Regions from separate parts of the Homo sapiens genome. Here region 1 is linked to region 2. The links are contacts of gene promoters, found by promoter capture Hi-C in blood cells and fetal thymus (Javierre and others, 2016). All regions are on one chromosome and are shown on one strand. Each heading gives the region's core, a stretch centred on a gene start or on the middle of the fragment in contact. The rest is flanking DNA. Distances are from core to core; before and after follow the strand shown.

Region 1 (2,704 bases), core at 188-2,687, 220 kb before region 2:
TAATAATATTGTTAGGGCCGGGCACGGTGGCTCATGCCTGTAATCCCAGCACTTTGGGAGGTCGAGGCGGGCGGATCATGAGGTCAGAAGATCGAGACCATCCTGGCTAACACAGTGAAACCCTGTCTCTACTGAAAATACAAAAAATTAGCCAGGCGTTGTGGCGGGTGCCTGTATCCCCAGCTACTTGGGAGGCTGAGGCAGGAGAATGGCATGAACCCGGGAGACAGAGCTTGCAGTGAGCCGAGATCGTGCCATTGCACTCCAGCCTGGGCGACAGAGCGAGACTCCGTCTCAAAAAAAAAAAAAAAAAAAAAAAAAAAAAAAAGTGGGGAAAACACTGCTGGCACAGGGAAGGATAAGAGACGGGGATGTTTAACTTTGAGGGAGGGTGGTGGGAAGAACGAAGACCTTCGAGCTGCAATGTGGAAGACAGAAGGAGGCGTGGTGGTCTGGTTATAGCACTGGAGGTACGCAGACTTCAGCTTGAAGGCTCTCTTTATCACTTGGCTAGCTCTGAGCCGGACTTCTGAGTCATCTGTGAAATAGAAGGCGCCTCTCGGAGTTGCGAGAATTGAATGAGATAACTCCTGGGAAGCGCTCCACCAGGGTCTGACGCTAGAAAGCACTTTGTCAGAATTGTAGTTTTCGTATATAATATTTCATCTTCTTGTCCCTAAAGCCTAGTTCAATCCCTGAAATCTCTTGGAGGATTTGGACATGCTGGCTGACTTGATTCAGTGCAAGAAAAGAACGATACGAGGCGCGGAGAGGACAGAAGCCGCAAGCGTGGCTCCGCTCAACGCGAAACAAAATCCTAACAAGAACAGATCGCGGGAGAGGTCGGGGAGCCAGCAGGGCGCACTCGACGCCGGGGCAGGACACTGGGAGCCTGCAGCAGGGACGTGGGTGGGGGGTACCCCAGGAGACCGCAAAGCTCCCCGTGGCTCGAGGGAGCGTCACGGCCGGAGAAGGAAGCGCGGGTGGGGCGCCAAGAGACGCGTCGGAGGTGAGAGAGGAGGAAGGCAAAGGGCCCTGGGTGAGGAGATGGGAGGCCGAGCGCGGAGGGAAGGGGTGAAGAGCCGGCCCCCCTCCTGAAGAAGACTCTTCAGATCCCCGCGCGCGGGGACCGTTTGGACGTAACCGCCTCCCGTCTCGGTGCCCGTCCATCCAGCCGGGGTTGGCCCTGCCACTGTCGCCACATCCCGCCTCCAATTCCCGCCCCGCTTCCGCTCGGCTTTGACACCGCGCTTCACAGCCACCCCGGTCCATTCGACCCGCTCCGCACCTCACACACGGCCCGCCGGCGGCCGCCGCCATCTTCGCGCGCCCGCTCGCCCTAACCCCGCCCCCAGACGCCATGCCCACGTGACCGCTCGCCCCCGGACCCGGAGCGTGGGCGGGGATTTCGTCACGTGACGTTGCCGCGGGGCGGTGCCAAGATGGCGAGGCCCAAAGAGGTGAGGAGCCGGCAGCGGGGGCGGCTGTAACTGTGAGGAAGGCTGCAGAGTGGCGACGTCTACGCCGTAGGTTGGAGGCTGTGGGGGGTGGCCGGGCGCCAGCTCCCAGGCCGCAGAAGTGACCTGCGGTGGAGTTCCCTCCTCGCTGCTGGAGAACGGAGGGAGAAGGTTGCTGGCCGGGTGAAAGTGCCTCCCTCTGCTTGACGGGGCTGAGGGGCCCGAAGTCTAGGGCGTCCGTAGTCGCCCCGGCCTCCGTGAAGCCCCAGGTCTAGAGATATGACCCGAGAGTGCCCATCTCCGGCCCCGGGGCCTGGGGCTCCGCTGAGTGGATCGGTGCTGGCAGAGGCGGCAGTAGTGTTTGCAGTGGTGCTGAGCATCCACGCAACCGTATGGGACCGATACTCGTGGTGCGCCGTGGCCCTCGCAGTGCAGGCCTTCTACGTCCAATACAAGTGGGACCGGCTGCTACAGCAGGGAAGCGCCGTCTTCCAGTTCCGAATGTCCGCAAACAGTGGCCTATTGCCCGCCTCCATGGTCATGCCTTTGCTTGGACTAGTCATGAAGGAGCGGTGCCAGACTGCTGGGAACCCGTTCTTTGAGCGTTTTGGCATTGTGGTGGCAGCCACTGGCATGGCAGTGGCCCTCTTCTCATCAGTGTTGGCGCTCGGCATCACTCGCCCAGTGCCAACCAACACTTGTGTCATCTTGGGCTTGGCTGGAGGTGTTATCATTTATATCATGAAGCACTCGTTGAGCGTGGGGGAGGTGATCGAAGTCCTGGAAGTCCTTCTGATCTTCGTTTATCTCAACATGATCCTGCTGTACCTGCTGCCCCGCTGCTTCACCCCTGGTGAGGCACTGCTGGTATTGGGTGGCATTAGCTTTGTCCTCAACCAGCTCATCAAGCGCTCTCTGACACTGGTGGAAAGTCAGGGGGACCCAGTGGACTTCTTCCTGCTGGTGGTGGTAGTAGGGATGGTACTCATGGGCATTTTCTTCAGCACTCTGTTTGTCTTCATGGACTCAGGCACCTGGGCCTCCTCCATCTTCTTCCACCTCATGACCTGTGTGCTGAGCCTTGGTGTGGTCCTACCCTGGCTGCACCGGCTCATCCGCAGGAATCCCCTGCTCTGGCTTCTTCAGTTTCTCTTCCAGACAGACACCCGCATCTACCTCCTAGCCTATTGGTCTCTGCTGGCCACCTTGGCCTGCCTGGTGGTGCTGTACCAGAATGCCAAGCGGTC
Region 2 (2,700 bases), core at 150-2,649:
TATATCTGGCCAAAGGCGCTACTGGCCAGGCGAAGTGGCTCACACCTGTAATCCTAGCACTTTGGGAGGCTGAGGTGGGTGCATCACTTGAGGTCAGGAGTTCGAGACCTGGCTAACATGGTAAAACCCCGTCTCTACTAAAAATACAAAAATTAGCTCGGCGTGGTGGTACGTGCCTGTAATCCCAGCCACTTGGGAGGCTGAGGCAGGAGAATCACTTGAATCCAGGAGGCAGAGGTTGCAGTGAGCCGAGATGGTGCCACTGCACTCCAGCCTGGTCAACAGAGCGAGACTCTGTCTCAAAAAAATAAAATTTAAAAATAAATGGACGGGGCCCACCCCTAGGTTTTCTTTTCCAGTACATCCGGGAGGTGGGAGGTGGCCCTGGAATTTTCATGGTTAACAAGGATTCCCGGGAAATTTGAGAAGCACTGGGTAAGACTGACCAGTTACCTACCACAGTCACTTTGAACATTTCTCCAAGGCCTGTGATGGGAATCTGAGGCACTGGCCTGTCTGACAGCAAGGAGTAAATGACCCTGGACAATGCTTAGGAGAAGGCCCTCGGCCTGTCCACTGACCTCTCTCCCACTCTGGGTATTTGTTTCCTAAAAGGTATTGGGGCATCCCTTTAACACACAGAGGCTGCAGTGAAGCCCCCAAACCACAGGCTTGGTGTTGAATGGGCAAGCTGTCCGGGGTCCAAGGTGACAACCAACAGTGATGGGTGGCAGGGGTCAGGCTGGGGCGGGCGAGACTCGAAATCTGAGCTGGAGTGCTGAGCCCTGGCTGCCACAGGGTAGTGGGGGCCCTTGTGCGAGCACAGCTGCCCCTGCCCGACCCTGGACCTGCCACTGGATCCGGGCCTCTAGGGGAATCTGATGTGCAGTCAGTTTGGGGACCACTGGTGGACTTCTGGAAAGAGAAGGGTCTAGTGTGCAGGGAAAATGAAGAAGAGGTCGCTAAAGAAACTTCCAAAGGGTTTTGGAGGTCGGGCCTGAGCTGATTTGGGGACCCCCTATCCACAGATGCCCTGGGACTGGGGGTGGGAGAAGAGGGGCATGGAAAGGAAGGAAGCGGAGGATGGCTGGTGATGGCATTCACGGCCACAGGTGCCATTCCCTGAGTCCCCTGCACATGCCAGCCACTCTGCCAGCCCCTCTGTCCACATCATTCGGTCAGCATCACCATCACTATGAACACGTGTTTACCCAGCTGCCTAATGATCTCGGAGGGGCTGGGCTCACCCCCACCCAAGCCCACCCTCCAATCCTGTCTCCCCCATTGTCTCCAGCAAGGTGATTGAGCACTGCAGTAACTTTAAAGAGGAGAACATGGACACGTCTAGATAGAGGCCTCCGTCCCCATGGCCGCCACCGCTCTGGACCACAGGCGGGGAGGAAGCATGCTCAAGCAGCCCAGCGGGCGGGCCCCTTCCGAGGGAGCCTCCCACGGAGTGAAGAGACATGGGGGACTTTTGCACAACCGACGCTTTTCCTTAATGTTAGTGAGATATATATATATTATATATATATATTTTTTTTTTGGTTAGGAAGTGTGAAGTTTTGTGTGTATGATTTCTGTGCAAAAACAAAAGCAACACTCCTGAGTCCTTGCAGCTTCCTTGGCCATTCTCAAACCCACTCAGCCTTCATCGCTGACACACACACTCCTACCCCAACCAGACTAAATGCCTATAACGCTGTGAGTGTCCAGTCCTTGTCCAGGAAACTCAGATCCCGGCCTGGCTTCCTTTCATGAGAGGAGCAGGCCTTGGACAGCGTATCGAGCATCCTGACCCACTGCCCCTGCCTGAGAACGCCATCTCGGCTCCCGGGCACAGCTGATGGGGTTTGGGGATTAGAACTTACCCCACTGGGTCTCCCAAAAGCCTTGGTGCTCCCGGCTGTGGGCCATCTGGGGCAGGAAAGTGAGCCATTCCTAGGCTGAGGTCCAGGCAGCCCTGCCCCTGAAGACCCTCTAGGAGCAGGGCACCCAGTGGCCCTGCTGCTGTCCAGCCAGGCCTGCCTGAGGCCACGCTGCTATGGAGGCTGCCTCCTAGTCTCCCACCAGGTCCCAGGCTGTGGAAAGCCCCAGCCCAGGGATGGTCAGAACTCAGGGGCAGATTCCACTGCCCCTTCTGCCAAACACATCCAGAACCTGCCCTCAGCCCTGGAAGCTAGCATCTTCTGGGGCCAGGGGCTTGCTTCCTCGCTCCATAGCCCTCAACTGCCCAGGCGCTCCCACCAGCAGAACTGAGCCTGCCTCCTCCTCCCAGCCTGCCCCGCTGCCCAGAGGACCCCACGCCTCTCAGAGGCAGAGGTCCCATGACAGCCTTTGACCCACAACGGCCACACAGCCGCCTCCAGACCAGCACTCGGACTGCCCTGCAGTGGCCGCTTGGGCCTCCCTGGCGGTCCCGCCCTGCCCTAGGCTTTACCTTGGAAGCCTGAGAGGCGCCGGCTCTCTTGCTCCTCCATCGATGGACACTGCATTGCTTCTCATCGGACACTTGTGGAGCGCAGGGGCCTGGGGAGCAGCGCTAACCCTGGAGGCAGCCTTTGGGTGATGGCTTTTTCTTCCCTTTTCCTCCCGCGGGCCTGTTTTCAGGTGTTCCTAGCATTTCTGCCTCCAGGCAGGACGGCAGGGGTGAGCAGCTTTGGGAGAGACACCTGGCCTTTTTCTCCTGGAGCCTCTCCC

The links. Contacts are between HindIII fragments. The CHiCAGO score rates a contact against its expected background, and 5 or more counts as called.
Region 1: a contact is called between the fragment with the promoter of DOLK here and a fragment that was not itself captured in region 2, in 1 of 17 cell types (erythroblasts). The highest score is 5.3, in erythroblasts.

The regions. Positions count from the first base shown.
Region 1 is chr9:128,946,336-128,949,039 of GRCh38, reverse strand. It overlaps DOLK (dolichol kinase), which reads left to right and starts at 1,437. Exons shown (of 1, transcript NM_014908.4): 1 at 1,437-2,704. The coding sequence starts at 1,737. It overlaps NUP188 (nucleoporin 188), which reads right to left and starts at 1,341. Exons shown (of 44, transcript NM_015354.3): 1 at 1,289-1,341. The coding sequence starts at 1,320. RefSeq lists enhancers at 1,222-1,271, 991-1,552, 1,622-1,691, 1,553-2,114, 2,115-2,677. The HindIII fragment of the contact is 6,982 bases long and covers 1-2,704 here.
Region 2 is chr9:128,729,989-128,732,688 of GRCh38, reverse strand. It overlaps ZER1 (zyg-11 related cell cycle regulator), which reads left to right. Exons shown (of 16, transcript NM_006336.4): 16 at 1,295-2,700. The coding sequence ends at 1,352. All of the region lies in intron 1 of ZDHHC12-DT (ZDHHC12 divergent transcript), which reads right to left. Among named protein-coding and RNA genes, the nearest start is that of ZDHHC12-DT, 6.9 kb to the right of the region's middle. RefSeq lists enhancers at 1-496, 2,290-2,700. The HindIII fragment of the contact is 3,790 bases long and covers 1-2,700 here.